Regions from separate parts of the Homo sapiens genome. Here all the other regions are linked to region 3. The links are contacts of gene promoters, found by promoter capture Hi-C in blood cells and fetal thymus (Javierre and others, 2016). All regions are on one chromosome and are shown on one strand. The core of a region is centred on a gene start or on the middle of the fragment in contact, and the rest is flanking DNA. Distances in the headings are between cores, read along the strand shown. Region 1 overlaps MCF2L2 (MCF.2 cell line derived transforming sequence-like 2). Region 2 overlaps MCF2L2 (MCF.2 cell line derived transforming sequence-like 2). Region 3 holds the start of LAMP3 (lysosomal associated membrane protein 3). Region 4 overlaps MCF2L2 (MCF.2 cell line derived transforming sequence-like 2). Region 5 overlaps MCF2L2 (MCF.2 cell line derived transforming sequence-like 2). Region 6 overlaps MCF2L2 (MCF.2 cell line derived transforming sequence-like 2).

Region 1 (2,700 bases), core at 123-2,622, 250 kb after region 3:
AACTTTGCCTAAATACTGTCTTATGTTTGCTTAATGTCTACCTCCCCATTAGACCGCAGGCTCCAGAAGGACATTCCTTCATTCCTCCTGGCCCCCATTACACCTGAGGAGCTGCGCAGGATGCTGCGGCTGCAGCAGTGGAGGTGGTGGCCTGGTTCTGGCCCCTAGGGACCTATGGCCATGGGCAGGGGTTATCCCCACTCCTTCATATCCCATCCTTAGACCTGGCCCAGTGCCCAGCTCCCGCAGGCCTTCATGAAATATGGTTAGTCTTAAATTGGGGATTAAAGAGGAGAAACAGGCAGAAGGACCTCTTTCCCCACAGCAATTTAATTAATTCTAGCTTCCCAGGGTATTGAAAGAGAAAGCTAAAATGAATGTGAACTGATCTAACAATAGGTAGAAAAAAACAGACACACAATCCAAAACCTGGGCTGGACAGGTTCAGTTCAAATAACTGAACAAAGAAATCCAGAGGCAACTCTTCTAAGCCTCTGTGCTCATTTTGAACACCTGTAGTTTGTCCACATGCATACAGTTTGTACTTATAACTCCCTCACAGTAAAGTCCTCTAAATACAGAAAGTCTTCTATACTAAATAAAAGTGCATAGTGGTGCTGCCACCTTGCCATGATAATGGGAGGTTATAACTTTATTAGATTATTAGACTTTTTGTTTGTTTAAGACTCTAGTGCTTAGCATGGGAAATGCAATTAGGCAAACATTTCTTCCTTAACAGGCTTATTATCCTTATTTAAGAATTATGTATGTATTATTTCTGCATGTTTAAAGACTACAAAGTAAATCCTCTAGCTTTAGCTAACAGTTTTTCTTTGGAAGAAAGTGACTATTAATAAGCCAACTTTTCGAGTGGCTCATAAAATACTTAAGATTCAGGGATTAATGCTTTCATTTTCTATTTGATTTTTTCAAAAGATTTTTCAAAACTCAGTAATAGCACTTTGTCATTTACTGGTTTATATATCACTTTGTCATGGGAAATTAAAGCAAATGTGAGCATTCAAATGCCTCAAAGCCAGCCAGACCTGACTTTTGATTCTGACGTTTCCTCTTGCTATGACCTTGGGCAAGCTTCCTAACCTGCTTAAGCCTCAAATTTCTCCTCCATATAAATAGACTGCACTTACCATTAAACTTAATTAAATAAAAATGTACATAATAAAGCACAACTTGTGACACTAAAAGGCAGGAAATAAATGGTAGCTAAAATTTCTTTTTTTTTTTTTTTTTTTTGAGATGGAGTTTCTGCTCTGTTGCCCAGGCTGGAGTGCGATGGTGAAATCTCAGCTCACTGCAACCTCCACTTCCTGGGTTCAAGTGATTCTCCAGCCTCAGCCTTCTGAGTAGCTGGTATTACAGGTGCCCATGACCATGCCTGGATAATTTTTGTATTTTGTAGTAGAGGCGAGGTTTCACCATGTTGGTCAGGCTGGACTCAAACTCTTAACCTCAGGTTATCCAGCCACCTTGGCTTCCCAAAGTGCTAGGATTACAAGCGTGAGCCACTGAACCCAGCCAATAACATCATTTTAAATGTTATTTCCATATCCTCTAGCCTTTCCCAATCTCTTAACTCCTAGAAAAGGATCTATATGAGGAAGGAAAAACAGTGAGACACCATAGGTCTGCCTTCAAGCTTGAGGTCATTCTTTCTTTCAAGGTAAAGCTCACTGTTGAGCTTTGTTGTCCAAGGAAGGGTTGTTGACCATGGAAGCCTAGGCAGAGACTACAATAAATTGGACAACTAGTGCAGAAAGACCAATGCAATCTCTAAAAGTGGCTATTCCCCTTATCCCGCCAATTAAATAGCTTTCCCCTCTCCATCTATCTAAATCTTTTCCTTCCTTCAAGATCAGCTCAAGTCACATCTCATATGAAGCTTTTTCCAGTCACTGAAGCTCACAATAACTTCAGCCTCCAAACTCTCACAGCACTATCTATATTGGCAATTGATCAAGCATCAACTTGTGACTTTTTGCAGTCTTTCTTAATATAACTATCATATTGGGCCTTGAACTCCCCTCCAGTCCAGTGGCCTACAAGCGTCCTCTCCAAACCCCTCAGATCATTTGTTATCTGGATAAAGCAGGGACCCATGGGTGACTCAGCCAGTGTTAAGAGCTCAGGCCCTCAGATTCCCCATAATTCTCTCCCCATGACAGCTTGTGGGCCATATGCCCGGGCCAGTGCCTTGGTCGTGGTGGGTGCTGTCTAAATACCATCCGTTCATTGACCAGTGACATCTTAATGTAGTTATGGTGCCCGAGCACCTAGGCAGTCACACAGGGGAGGTGGCACACTGAATATGGGGCAAGGTTCCTGTTTTTCCCAGGCCAGCCTGTAAAACCGTCTAAGTATTTTACATTCTTAATGATTCTAAAAGTTGAAAGCATAATGCCAGTACTTCCCAAGTTATTAGACTTGTTTTAGGGTGACTGTTCACCCCAAAGCCCTCTTCCCCAAGGACTTCTACCCCCATCCCAAGATCCAGCCACTCTCTAAATCCACAGCTGAATAAAGAGCTGATCTGCAGAGAAAAGCAGAAGAATGGTATAGACACAGGAGGGAAGCAGAGCACAGTGACCAGGTGACACCAGAGAGAGAACAGCTGTCTTAGCTCCTGACTGTGCACCTTGCTGATGAGGCCCAGGGGGACCTCCTGCTCTGAGGTTCTGTGAG
Region 2 (2,700 bases), core at 28-2,527, 150 kb after region 3:
CTGTAAAATACATATTCTTTTACAAGTTTCACATTTACAACTCTTGGGACATGAGAAAGGAGAAAGCTTTGCCAATTCTGTGTAGCAATGGAACTAACATGGACCAATTTCCCCCATCTAATTGTCTTGCTCCAGGTATAAAACTAGTTGTTTTTTTTTTTCTGGTTTCTCCTTTGAAAGTTTCCCATCCTTACTACCAACCCCACAACCCCCAGCCCCCTAGTCCAGGCTCCAGGGAGGAGCTCAAGCTGATGGGTGAGCCTCTGATATAATTGTTCTGGTGAGTGATGAGCCTGTTGTGACCTTCTCCCACTTGGCTGCTGACCACGTGAGAGGGCAGGGCTGGTCCAGAGTCCTCACCCGACCTGAGCGTCCAACTGCAACTGTATGTTCCGGCAGCTTTAATAGGACTCTGTGCTGCCCGTATTATTCATAGCAGTTGTTAATGTGCCTCTCTCCTTGGGATCCTGGGGTGACTGAAGGGCAGGACTGGGCATTCCTGTGTCCTTTAGCAACCTTCCAATAGCAATGACTGGACATGATCCATCATTGTCCACAGCAACCTCCCTCCCAGTACACAAAAATGTCAGAAAGCAAACCTGGCTTTTTTCCTCCAGTTTTTTGTGTTCCTTAAGAATCTGCTCCACGTGCATCACGCTGTCTCCAATGCCTGTAAACTCTGCTTGCTCTTCCAGCAAATTATCCAGGGCAAGCTTAGCCTACAAGAAACATTAGAACAGTCCAGAAGTAAACCAACACTCACTCACCTGAAGGTATAGGTTTGTTATGCTTCAAGAAAACTCAAAATTCCAAAAAGGATTCAAGACTTGTATATATCTATATATGTTAAAAATTTTTTTTTTGCAGCTCACTAACTTTCAAATTAAGCTGGGGGTGCAGAATTCACCTGTAGCTGAACTATTAGAACTATATTCAACAGATAATCAATCAAAAAGGAAGACAGCTGGGTCCAGTGGCTCATGCCTATAATCACAGCACTTTGGGAGGCTGAGGCAGGAGGATTGTTTGTGCTTGGAAGTTCGAGGCCAGCCTGGGCAACATAGGGAGACCTCGTCTCTGCAAAAATATTTAAAAATTATCTGGGCCGGGCGCAGTGGCTCACGCCTGTAATCCCAGCACTTTGGGAGACCGAGGCAGGTAGGTCACAGAGGTCAGGAGATTGAGACCATCCTGGCTAACACAGTGAAACCCCATCTCTACCAAAAATACAAAAAATTAGCTGAGTGTGGTGGTGGGCACCTGTAGTCCCAGCTACTCAGGAGGCTGAGGCAGGAGAATCGCTTGAACCTGGGAGGCGGAGGTTGCAGTGAGCTGAGATCGCGCCATTGCACTCCAGCCTGGGCAACAGAGTGAGACTCCAACTCAAAAAAAAAATTACCGGGTGTGATGGTGGGGCATGCCTGTAATTCCAGCTACTTGGGAGGCTGAGGTGGGAGGATAGCTTGAGCCCAGAAGATCAAAGCTGCAGTGAGCCATGATCACACCACTGCACTCCGGCCGGAGTGACAGAGCAAGACCCTGTTTCAAAAAAAAAAGGAAGATAAACCATCACTGAAATGCCATGTACATCAACAGGTAAATGGGATTCTAGAACAGTTTGACTCCACTGAAAAAGTGAGAAGGGGGTTGGAGGGGGTGGTCTGTAAAGAAGCAAGGAGATAAGGAGAAAGCTGGATTAGGGAAAAGAGGGAAACCCCATACCAAAGAGTGAGGAGGGAGAGAAAACCAGAGGTCCCGGTACCAGAAAAGAAAGTTACAGTAAACAAGAAAAGAATACCTTACAAAAATCGTGCTCAAAATGCTGTAGTTGTAGGCACTGGTTAAGCTTCAGATGATGCTCAGACCAAAAGTGACTAAAGGCTTTTTCTGTTTCATCCAGTTGAACTAATAACCTTTCAAGAAAGAATGAGAAAGTGATGTTAGGTTAGCATTCATTTCCACAGGCATCCATATAGGCCTATGGCTAGAACACCTGTGTCTTCGGTCAGTGGTGTCAATTGTGACCATCTCATTATTATGAAAGCATGTGTCACCTATGCCTTTCTTCTGGCTCAGCAGGCTTTGCACCTTTCATTTTCCAATCAGGACATCCACAGTGCAGGCAGTGACTTTGCTTCAGATGCAGCTGCTGTGCTTTAGAATGTGCTCCGGCTGATCTTACCTTCATGCCTTCTTTCTTTCTACCTGAGACTACACGAATATAAAGCACAGCTCCAAGCTAAACTGTTACTTGGAAATGAAGCCCAGTAAATACTACCCTCTCCCTCAAAATCCTAGGGTGGGAACATGTCATATACATTGAAGAGGGGGGAATAGAATGCTCATAAAAAGATCTCTGTATGTGGATGCCAGACGGACGTATTCTTTTTTCCTTTGTTGTCTCAAATATTCTTCTTCCTTGGCCCCACCAAGACCCAATATTGGCTGTTCCAATCTGTTCTTGGTTGCTCCAGAACATCTAGGTCTACATATTCTCTCCTGAAAAGGCTGATTCCACTTCACTCACTCACCTTTCCATGGTAGTTACATTCTCAAGTTGGTTGAGATTGAGTTTGCTGTTGGGACATTTGGTTGCTGGTTCTTGGATGCATGACAGCAATGTGGTCCCCTGCTTTCCAAGTAATTTCAGCTCATCCTAGAAAATAAAAGTAGTCTCTCTTAGAACGAATTAGAAAAAAC
Region 3 (2,700 bases), core at 138-2,637:
CTCCACTTGCCCTTGCATTTGTCAATACTCACTGTATTTTTATTTTTATTTATTTATTTTTTTTGAGACAGAGTCTCACTGTTACCTAGGTTGGAGTGCAGTGGCATGATCTTGGCTTACTGCAACCTCCGCCTCTTGGGTTCAAGTGATTCTCCTGCCTCAGTCTCCCGAGTACCTGGGATTACAGGCGCCCACAACCATGCCCGGCTAATTTCTGTATTTTTAGTAGAGGCGGGGTTTCACCGGTGGCCAGGCTAGTCTCGAACTCCTGACCTCAAGTGATCCGCCGGCCTCAGCCTCCCAAAGTGCTGGGATTGCAGGTGTGAGCCACCACGCCTGGCCTGTCAATACCATTGTGTTTCTGAGCCTATCCATCCATTCAAGGAGCGCTCACATACAGGTCACTGTGGGTTACCGCTAGGCTGAGATTGTTTTGCTTTTTTAATAGCTTGCCCTGTGGAGCGTGATGATGACTTCCTCTTCTGTCCCCTAAAAGAACCTGAAACTGTAAGTGTGAAAGTGTGGCGCAGGGGAGAACTGCCTAGGCAAGGGCAGCTGGCACGACCCTTCTCACCTCTTCCCTAACATTCCTAGCATTCATGTTACAAGCAAGGGCCACCGCGCCCCCTGCTTGAGCATGTTAGCCGGGCGGTAGGGACGGAGACAGTTCTCTCATGACGTTCGAGTAACCAGGAAACTTCATCACAGGGACAACACCACAGCACCCGAGGACTCAATGTCTAGGGGGAAAAGCTCTGGAGAAAGCGGAGGGTCGGATCATAAAATAATCATAAACTCAGCGTCCCAGACGGCATCTGGGATGGGAAGTACAATGATCATTTAAAAAAAAAAAAGTCTTTGACACTCTTCCTACACCTTTCTGAAATGGCACAATCTGTCAGACCACATCTGATGCAAGGAAAAGCAAGACAGGAGCGCTTTTCCCGGATAACAAAGCCAAGACTCCCATTCCTAAACCCTAGCTCAGGTCTCCATCTCTTAAATCCGAGTGACCTCTACAAACTCTCCCTGAGAAGGTGTCCAGAACCCTTTTGGAAGCGAGGGACAGTGTCACTGTCTTTGGGGTTGACACCTGCTCTGAGTAACTCACGGAAAACAAGTTCCAGCTGGGAAGCCCTTGGACGCGCCACACCTCCCTACCCGCAGCCCGTCCTGTGGCGCCCGGGACTCCAGAGTGCGTTTAGATGAAAGGGGACCGACACGTCAGGGCCACCGCGGGAAGCGCTGAGGGCCACTCACCGGCCAGGGACGCGAAGAGCGCGGCCGCCGCGCTGAGCTGCCGGGGCATGGTGGGCGCTGGGCGAGGTTCTGCAGCGTGCGGCGAAGTCCGGGCAGGCCCCGAATCGGTGCCAGAGAAACCTACCTGTGCCGGAGAAACGAAACCACCTGCTTATGAGAAGCAGCCGAAAAGCCCGCCCAGGGCCGCTGGGCGGGGAGGGAAACTCCGCCGGCCCCCTCCTACCCCTACGGAGCAGGGAGGGGCGGGGACTCGGCGCAGCCGCCGGGGCCCGGGCCTCTGGGACCGTTTACCGCACGCGCGTGGTCCCGGCAGCGCCGGCCTCCTCCGCTCATACCCTGGGTCTCCTCCTTTCTTTTTCTTTTCTTTTTGAGACGAAGTCTCGCTCTGTCGCCCAGGGTGGAGTGCAGTGGCGCGATCTCGGCTCACTACAACCTCTGCCTCCCGGGTTCAAGCGATTCTTCTGCCTCAGCCTCCCGAGTAGCTGGGATTACAGGCATGCACCACCACACCCGGCTAATTTTTGTATTTTTAGTAGAGACGGGGTGTCACCATATTGGCCAGGCTGGTCTCGAGCTCCTGACCTCGTGATTCGCCCGCCTCGACCTCCCAAAGTGCTGGGATTATAGACGTGAGCCACCGAGCCCGGCCAGGGTCTCCTCTTTTATTTCTTTTCTTTTTATTTCTTTTGTTTTGTTTTGTTTTGTTTTGTTTTTTGAGACAAAGTCTCGCTCTGTCGCCAGGCTGGAGTGCAGTGGCGGGATCTCGGCTCACTGCCCTGGTTCAAGCGATTCTCCTGCCGCAGCCTCCCGAGTAGCTGGGGTTACAGGCGCCCGCCACCACGCCCAGCTAATTTTTGTATTTTAGTAGAGACGGGGTTTCACCCTGTTGGCCAGGCTGGTCTCGATCTCCTGACCTTGTGATCCGCCCGCCTCGGCCTCCCAAAGTGTTGGGATTACAGGCGTGAGCCACTGCGCCCGGCCCAGGGTCTCCTCTTTTCTAACAGCTCGGGTACCTTTCTGGGAACCCAGAGACGCTTCTCAGCCGGGAGAAAGCCAGCCACTAGGCGAGCAGGAGCCTAAAAACCCCTAAGCACCCTGACTCCATGTCTTCCCAGGGAGTCTGCGGCAGCCGCGCTCCACGCCCAGGCCTCGCCAGGACCGCGGTTTGCGGGAAGCAACAGGAGCACAGCCCAGAGGCGCTAGGTCTGGCTGGGAGCTCGCGCTGCCGACTCCCCGGCGTGCGGCGTCGGGGAACCTCTAGGAGCCTTGGATTCTTCAGCTGTAAAACGGACATAATAATGCCCACTCCCAGTGTGTTTTTTTATTTTCTTTTTTCTTTTTCTTTCTTTGTTTTTGTTTGTTTGTTTTTGTTTTTGTTTTTGAGACAGGGTCTCACTCTGTCGCCCAGGCTGGAGGGCAATGGCGTGATCTCGGCTCACT
Region 4 (2,700 bases), core at 162-2,661, 210 kb after region 3:
CGAAACTCCGTCTCAAAAAAAAAAAAAAAGAAAGAAAGAAAGAAAGAAAAAATAGAAGCCATGTCATTTGCCCCAGACCACCTAGCTAGTGAGCAATAGGATCTGGATTTCAATCCAGGTTTGGGCTGTGTTCAAAGCTCTTCAACACTATCCTTTTCTCTCTCTGGAATGCTCCCTTCTGTATCTATCTGTAGCAACTGTACCATCCCCTCAAGGACATTTTGTTAGGGAGGCAGGAGCCTAGGAGAGTGAAAGTGACACAATTTTAAGTTCAGCTCCATCTTGAGAGTAACAAGGCACATTCCTTGCCAACCAGGACCCATGGTCATAAGATGTTTATGGTTGAGAAAACAGCCTAAGGATACTACAACAACAGAAAGTCCAGATGTCCCAATACCATAACAATATATGTTTTCAAAAAATTATAGTTATGCTTTGATGTTCTCACACACTAAAATGTCAAGGATAGTTTTCTTTAAATCAATAGAATAATAAGTTTTGTCACACTGTCTGCCCATCCGCACATAGGCACAGCTTAGTTTAATCTTTATATAGACAAGATCCCTATATAAGAAAAACTTAAAGTCAATGCGTTCCTCCTTTTGCTTTCTGAGGGCACCCTACTCTGTAACAGTAGTTTCTAATAAGCTTGCTTCTTTCACTGCATTTTGTGACTCTCCTTGACTTCTTTCCCACATAAGATCCAAGAACCCTCTCTTACAGGTCTGGATTGAAACCCCCTTTTTTCCTGAAGTTTTCCCTTTTTTTCCTGTCGAAGTGACTTTCTGTTTTCTGAGCTCCTATAGCACTTTGTTTACATATTTCACAAAAGATATTGATAACAGAGTCATGTAATGAGTTTCCTGCGGTCTGAGACATCGTCTTGAGGTTTTTCAGTCCTTTACAGCATCGTACACCGCACCCTACATGCTGTGGGCTCTCATAGAGGTCTGCTGAAGAATGAATTACTGTGGGAAGCCTTTCTGTACCTGCCCAACCCACTCACAATGCGAGATCCTAATTAATTTCAGGCACAAAGATAGCATTTCCCAACCCCAAGTATCCTGCCATTTTCCTATTCTAGTGTATCAATTCTTTTTTATCCATCCACGAGCCCTCTGCCACCTGTCTATAAAACATTTTGCAATTGGGAAGGACTCTGGTACTGGATAACTATGTAACGTACAAAAAGATGCAAATTGTGATAAACAGGAGTCATAAAACGAACAAGGGTGGTTTCATTCTTTGAAATCTGACATGGAAATTAGACATAGGTCCAAGTCAAGTTCCCCTTTCAGGCCTTCTCACCCTTTGTCTCCACTTTTTGTGGAAAGGAACAGGGGAGGGGCAGCAAGTAGTGTGAGCAAAAGCGGAAGAAGAAAGGCGAGGGGAAGAACTGGCCAGACAGCCACTCTTTCCCGAAAGACAAACAGCATTCTAGGAAAAGAAAATATTCCCTAGGTCACAAGAAATTGTACCAGGAGCCTACAGTAGAACAAAGAAATCCAAAACAGAAGCCCCTGTTTGATCTCCTCATCTCCATCTGTGAGATAGGGGTGATAACCCTGCCTGCTTCTTGCCACACAGTCCGGGGGGCTGAGCTATCTTCAGCGTGATTTGGAAAAGGCTGCAAATGCAAAAGGAAAATCCTCCATTTAACTTAGCATTTGACTGTATCCCTGGGGATTAAGTAAAACTAGACATCGAATTTAAAACAAATATAAGGAGAATGGGGACAGGGGACACTCCTCCTATTGTCTACATCCCTATTCACCCTCTTCCTTGCCGCTCCCACAGAAGTTGCTAAACTGATGGGATATTGTCCTGAAATGCCACTGGGCCAAAGACAGAGTTCAAGTTCAACTTCTTAAAACCCAGGTTGATAAAGGCAGGAATGAAGAGCTGGGGTTCCCCTCCGTCAGGGTCCCCCTTCTCACTGTAGGAATGGAAAAACTTCACCTCTATTGTCTTAGGGTCCTGGCTGGGTCCAAGAGTTAAATCGACAAAACACAGATTAACATGAGAAAAGCATAGACATTTATTCATAAATGTTTTACATGGCACAAGAGCCCTCATAAAGAAATGAAGACCCAAAGAATCAGTTAGAGTCAGTTACTTCTATACTGGATTGAACAAAGAATAATAAACTATGAAAATGTGACTAAATTATGTGGGGAAGCTTAAAAAATAGAATTTCTAACAAGGTCTGTGCAATATTCTCTAAGTTACCTTTCCTTCTAGTCCCTAGAGAGTGTCTTTCACATAGGAATTCCATCTTCTCCTCTTAAGAAACAGCACAAAGGTCAAAGTGATATTCTTGTACCTGCTGTTTTTCAAGTGCTTTTAACTTAAATAGTCAATATTCCAGAATGGCATTTTTAAATTTTTACTTTAAGTTTTGGGATACATGTACAGAACATGCAGGTTTGTTACATAGGTATACATGTGCCACAGTGGTTTGCTGCACCTGTCAACCCATCATCCAGGTTTTAAGACCCGCATGCATTAGGTATTTGTCCTAATGCTCTCCTTCCCCTCGTCCCCGACCCTCCAACAAGCCCCGGTATGTGATGTTCCCCTCCCTGTGTCCATGTGTTCTCATTGTTCAACTCCTGCTTATGAGTGAGAACATGTGGTGTTTGGTTTTCTGTTCCTGTGTTAGTTTGCTGAGGATGATGGCTCCCAGCTTCATCCATGTCC
Region 5 (2,700 bases), core at 108-2,607, 170 kb after region 3:
AAATGTTGTTATGCAGCACATGGCTGGAATTGCATTTGTATGACTCTCTGCAAAAAGGCAAAACTATAAGGATGGAGAGCAGATCAGTGGCAGCCAGGGATTAGGGATGGGGAGAGGGGCTGGCTACAAAAGGGCAGAGTGAGGAAGTTTTGCGTGGTGATGGGGCTGTTCTGTATCTTTATTGTGGTGACTGGATAACACCACGCATTTGTCAAACTTCATAGAACTGTACACCAAAGAGAGTGAATTTTACCTGATGTAAATTTTCAAAAACAAATGAGAGGCAGTTTCCCCACATTTTTTTTCTTCTTTTAATCTTTACAGGATAGAAATGTTTAAAAAGTTTTTATATTCTATATAGTGAAGAAAAAAGGCAGAATAATTGTGCTCATCAAACCCACAGGACACACTAAGCATGTAAAACTGGCCTTAAAACATTTTTTCTGTCTTTTCTTGGATTCTGTTTTTGTCTATTTGGCATCCTCTCATTACAGGGTCAATTACATGAGCCACATTTTCTTATTTTCTGTACTCTTGAGGCTCTGGCATTTGTGGCCTCCATGACTAGGAAGAGACTGCCCCGCCACCCCCACCCCAGGGCTAACCACTTCTTAGAGACAGGGAAGGGGTTAGCTGGGAGCAGGTCTTTCATACGCAAAACAACCAGTCTCAAATCCAAATCCCCAACCACCACCTTATCAAACTCTCACACACCAGGCCATTGTTTACCTTGCCCTAAGTCATCCCAGGGCCAGGTGCCATGTAACAAAGAGACAATCCTTATACCCCAAAGACTGCAGGAGTTATTCAAACTAGTCCATACTAAATCCTGCCTTGCTTTGCCTGCAGAACTCCAGTAAACGCTCTGTCCTAGACTTTCCTCTGCCTCCTTCTTCTGCCTCCTGACCAAAGCTTGGTGCTTCCCCAGTAGCCCATGCGGCGTGAGGTGACCCCGACCCCTGGACATGTGGATATTATAAACTTCTTCCTTCCAAGCCTGTCTCTTCCTGTGGCCCCACCAACTTTACCATACGTGCATATTCTTGTAACAATTGTTAAAAGCTAAAAATGTCTTGTTTCTTTTCCTTTTCTGTATACATTTGTGTTCTTATCTATAGATGCTTAAAACCGTTCTTTCAAAGAAATACATGGTCTTTTAACTGCACAAGAAGCATTTCCTGTATTCTGACACAAACTCCATTTTAAGCAACCAATTTCCACGATCATAGCCTCTTCAGGAGTTTTACAAGACTGCCTTGGTGACTTCACATTAACAGTTTTATGAGGCTGCTATGAGTACAGCTGTTCCAGAATAGGGAAGTGCCTGGCCAGCAACAGGGACTCAGAAACCATCTACTGGGAGGCCAAGGCAGGAGGATCACTTGAGCCCAGGAGGTTGAGGCTGCAGTGAGTCCTGATGGAGCCACGGCACTCCAGCCTGGGTGACAGAGCAAGACACAGTTTCAAACAAAACAAAACAAAAACAAACAAAAACCATTTACTACATGAAAGTACTTCCCCTCCATAGATAAAGGTAGAGGGAGGCTGTCACTTGGCTACAATTACATCCTTGACCCACCTGATTCCTATACCAGTCACACAAAATAAACTCCTTTCCCCCCAACACGTGAAAATGTAATTATCTAACTAGAAATGACCAGGAAGATGTTATAATATAAGAGAGGCTAGGAAGCTACAAAGTAAAGTGCTAATATCACAACACGTTTTAAAAATAAAGAAGATAAACTGACAGTTTGAACTGTCATTGAGAAGGCAACACGTATTGAGAAGTTAGATTTCATTAAGCTTGATAACTTCAGACTCTGCCGTTTCTGGAGCATCAGCGCTACCAGGGAGTGTGACCTTGTGCGTCAGGTGAAATGGTTACTTACGGAGTGAACTTGCATTAAAGAATGCCCTACTCAATGTGCCCAGGGTTTGGGTGACTGAGAGCTTTTTCAAAAGTTGATTTTAAGTTTAAAATTAAAAGCAGGTCAGGCAGGGAATCAACCTACACTACCACAAATAGAGGTAGCTAAAGTCAGAATATCGAGATAAAGTAGATGTTCAGTCCCTCCTAGGTGTAGATGCATCACCTGAGAAGGAGGGCATAAGTCACAAATGTATCTGTGTACATATGAGCACACCTAGATCATATGTATCATATGTATAAAACACGTGTTTTATATGCAATCAGGGAAATACGCGTGACATTTGGTCAAATGCTCAGTTCCAACTCCAAACGTTTTTGAGTGGCAAGAAGAATTGATGAGTCTTCATTTCTGAAGGGGAGTCACGAAGGGACTCGTGAAGATGATGACACGTCATCGGCTTCTTGTCAGTCTCCATCTCTTCCCAAACATCAACAGTTACTCAAGTTAGGAAAACTGAGCAAAGAACTCAGGCCTCACATTTTCCTTAAACACTCAAGTGTTTCAAAAATGAGTATTTAAAATAGAATGGGAAATTCATTTTGAGTTTGGCTAATCCCCAAAGTAGAAAAGAAAGGATTTTCAGAAATTTGATTATTAATACAGGATGGAACCAAAACAAGGAAAATAAGAGTAGGAAAGGAGAGAGAAAAATGAGAAAAATCCCTTGTCTAAGATGGCAAGTCTTCACTGAGATGGGTTTAATATTCTTTCAGGGTAATTTTATTTTTATTTATTTTTTGAGACAGAGCCTTGCTCTGTCGCCCAG
Region 6 (2,700 bases), core at 168-2,667, 190 kb after region 3:
ACAACAGATTCTTTATAGCAATAAGATGCCAAGTTCCAACCTGACTCTAGTACAGCGTCACATGACAGCAGGCCCTGAAAGAAATAGAATTATTTTTTCTGCAAAATATATTTCTTTGCCATATTTTGAAATGATCCCGCAAAGCTGTCTCTTGTGGGGAAAATCTACATTCTGCAGAGAATCCCCTTCCCTTTCCAGGTCTTTTCCTGATCCAGGAGAGAGATTTAACTGAGAGTCTGGCACCTTTTACGGTCTGATAAGGGACATTTACCATCTATTCTCTCTAAAGCCTGCTACATACCAAGAACCTTGGCTTCCACAACCTGCACCCTCCCACCCCACCCCACTTATCTTAACCCCCAGCATTTCTTTCTGCTGACTTCTACTCTTTAGATAATAACTTAACCATTTCAACCAATTACCAATCAGAAAATGTTTGAATCCACCTATGATCTGTAAGTCTCTCACCCAGTGGTTCAAGTTTTCAAGTTGTCTCACCTTTCTGGACCAAACCAATGTACATCTTACATGTATTGATTGTTGTTTGCCTGTAACTCCTGTCTCCCTAAAATGTATAAAATCAAGCTATTACCCAATGACCTTGGGCACATGTTCTTAGGACCTCCTGAGGCTGTGTCATGGCGTCGTGGTCCTTACATTTGGCTCAGAATAAAGTTCTTCAAATATTTTACAGAGTTTGGCCCTTTTGAGTCAACATAGGTATGTTACTGATCAATAACGTAGTCCCTATAAGCATGCAAAGGGAATAAATCCATCATGAATGCATGAATAAATACAGAAATAAATGTAAGAATTAAAGCATGTTTCCAGGTCTTTGTACTGTGTGAAGTGATATAAAATAATTGTTTAAAGCACTGGCATAAAATGCTTCTATTTATTTTAATAATATTATTTATTATTCATTATATTATTTATTATTTATTTTATTTTATTTTCATAAGTCTAATGGATCCCATCCCCTCCACACACTCCACCACAACTTTCTTTACATGATATTGATTTCTAGAATTTACATGAAATGTTTGAAAATGAAAAAAACTAGGGGATTGTGAGGAGGAAGCAAGAGACAGGTAATGTCACTAGAAAAGGATCAGATCTTGTTGCTTGTGGATATGAATGAATTCCTCTTTCTAAGGATACTGACCTTAGAAAATGGAGGGGAAAATGCTTGAAGGCCTCTTAGAGGCAACTCCAACACAGTCTTACTCTTTCAGTAGAGGGGGGCAGAAAGCAGGAATAGCAAAATAATTACTTAGCTACCATAATCAACAATTCCTTTCCTTTTTTTTTTTTTTGAGACGGAGTCTCGCTCTGTCGCATAGGTGGAGTGCCGTGGCGCGATCTCGGCTCACTGCAAGCTCCGCCTCCCGGGTTCACACCATTCTCCTGCCTCAGCCTCCCGAGTAGCTGGGACTACAGGCGCCCGCCACCACGCCCAGCTAATTTTTTTTTTTTTTTTTTTTTTTTTGGTATTTTTAGTAGAGACAGGGTTTCACCGTGTTAGCCAGGATGGTCTTGATCTCCTGACCTCGTGATCCGCCTGCCTCGGCCTCCCAAAGTGCTGGGATTACAGGCGTGAGCCACCGCACCCGGCCATCAACAATGCTTTTCAAGTCCACACCAGTCACCTGAGGGTCCTGTTAAACATAGCAATTTCAAGTCATGAAGCTAGGGGTGATGCCCCAGATTCTGCATTTCTGACAGGCTTCCAGGTGATGTTCATTCTGGGGCCTCACTTGGAGTGACTAGGGCAGTGGGCCCCTCCTTCCCCCCTCCCCTCCCCTTGTGAATAAAGAGCAGCTGGCTGTAGCATTTGCCCCATCTGCAGCCTTGCAAACCTCTTCCTTCACAAAGTAGATTTGCCAGGACAGTGCCTAGGCTATAGGAGTTGAAGCTAAGGAGGAGGAAGAGCAGTGCCTGAAGAAACTTCAGACCATATGCAAGAAAGACTCAAAAGAAGAATACAAAGAGCAGGTCTTTCTAGAAATAAAATTGACTTAAAAAAAAAAAAAAAACTCTGCCTCTAGAGCAAAGTACTCTTTATTATAAAAAAAAAAAGTATTGCCGGGCATTGTAGCTCACACCTGTAATCCCAGCACTTTGGGAGGCCAAGGCAGGCTGATCACGAGGTCAAGAGATTGAGACCATCCTGGCCAACACGGTGAAACCCTGTCTCTACTAAAAATATAAAAATTAGTTGGGCGTGGTGGCATGCACCTGTAGTCCCAGCTACTCAGGAGGTTGAAGCAGGAGAATTGTTTGAACCCGGGAGGCAGAGGTTGCAGTGAGTCGAGATTGCGCCACTGCACTCCAGCCTGGCAACAGAGCAAGACTCCGTCTCAAAATAAATAAATAAATAAAATAAAAGTATTGCCTACTCCCTAATCAAGCATCCCTAAAGGAAAATCTATTTATAGGACCCACTCACTGTTGCAGAGTCTACTGACCTCAATTTCCTCCCATTCAAGTGCAAGTACCTTGGTTAAACAGAGCTACCCAATTGCAAAGGAAATCCAAGTCAGATAATTATATTTACAACATAACCCTTCAAAAATATAAAAAGGCAACCAAAGATCTTCTGAATTGAATAAAAGCAAAGCATCAAAGAGAAAGACTGAGGTGAACAAACAGAACAGCCAATCTAGAAACAATGAAAACAACTACAAAAAAGTTTATATT

The links. Contacts are between HindIII fragments. The CHiCAGO score rates a contact against its expected background, and 5 or more counts as called.
Region 1: a fragment that was not itself captured here is called in contact with the fragment with the promoter of LAMP3 in region 3 in 12 of 17 cell types (erythroblasts, M1 macrophages, M2 macrophages and 9 more); the score reaches 12.6 in erythroblasts.
Region 2: a contact is called between a fragment that was not itself captured here and the fragment with the promoter of LAMP3 in region 3, in 1 of 17 cell types (M1 macrophages). The highest score is 5.1, in M1 macrophages.
Region 4: a contact is called between a fragment that was not itself captured here and the fragment with the promoter of LAMP3 in region 3, in 17 of 17 cell types (activated CD4 T cells, naive B cells, naive CD4 T cells and 14 more). The highest score is 19.8, in activated CD4 T cells.
Region 5: a fragment that was not itself captured here is called in contact with the fragment with the promoter of LAMP3 in region 3 in 1 of 17 cell types (activated CD4 T cells); the score reaches 5.5 in activated CD4 T cells.
Region 6: a contact is called between a fragment that was not itself captured here and the fragment with the promoter of LAMP3 in region 3, in 3 of 17 cell types (neutrophils, total B cells and activated CD4 T cells). The highest score is 5.7, in neutrophils.

The regions. Positions count from the first base shown.
Region 1 is chr3:183,408,318-183,411,017 of GRCh38, forward strand. All of the region lies in intron 1 of MCF2L2 (MCF.2 cell line derived transforming sequence-like 2), which reads right to left. Among named protein-coding and RNA genes, the nearest start is that of MCF2L2, 19 kb to the right of the region's middle. The HindIII fragment of the contact is 565 bases long and covers 1,091-1,655 here.
Region 2 is chr3:183,309,117-183,311,816 of GRCh38, forward strand. It overlaps MCF2L2 (MCF.2 cell line derived transforming sequence-like 2), which reads right to left. Exons shown (of 30, transcript NM_015078.4): 8 at 2,532-2,656; 9 at 1,799-1,913; 10 at 600-719. Among named protein-coding and RNA genes, the nearest start is that of B3GNT5, 57 kb to the left of the region's middle. The HindIII fragment of the contact is 1,133 bases long and covers 712-1,844 here.
Region 3 is chr3:183,161,347-183,164,046 of GRCh38, forward strand. LAMP3 (lysosomal associated membrane protein 3) reads right to left here and starts at 1,388. Exons shown (of 6, transcript NM_014398.4): 1 at 1,261-1,388. The coding sequence starts at 1,309. RefSeq lists an enhancer at 567-776 and a silencer at 1,389-1,598. The HindIII fragment of the contact is 7,998 bases long and covers 1-2,700 here.
Region 4 is chr3:183,374,655-183,377,354 of GRCh38, forward strand. The region is part of intron 3 of MCF2L2 (MCF.2 cell line derived transforming sequence-like 2); the gene reads right to left. Among named protein-coding and RNA genes, the nearest start is that of MCF2L2, 53 kb to the right of the region's middle. The HindIII fragment of the contact is 1,531 bases long and covers 647-2,177 here.
Region 5 is chr3:183,330,392-183,333,091 of GRCh38, forward strand. All of the region lies in intron 5 of MCF2L2 (MCF.2 cell line derived transforming sequence-like 2), which reads right to left. Among named protein-coding and RNA genes, the nearest start is that of B3GNT5, 78 kb to the left of the region's middle. The HindIII fragment of the contact is 894 bases long and covers 911-1,804 here.
Region 6 is chr3:183,354,150-183,356,849 of GRCh38, forward strand. All of the region lies in intron 3 of MCF2L2 (MCF.2 cell line derived transforming sequence-like 2), which reads right to left. Among named protein-coding and RNA genes, the nearest start is that of MCF2L2, 73 kb to the right of the region's middle. The HindIII fragment of the contact is 4,685 bases long and covers 1-2,700 here.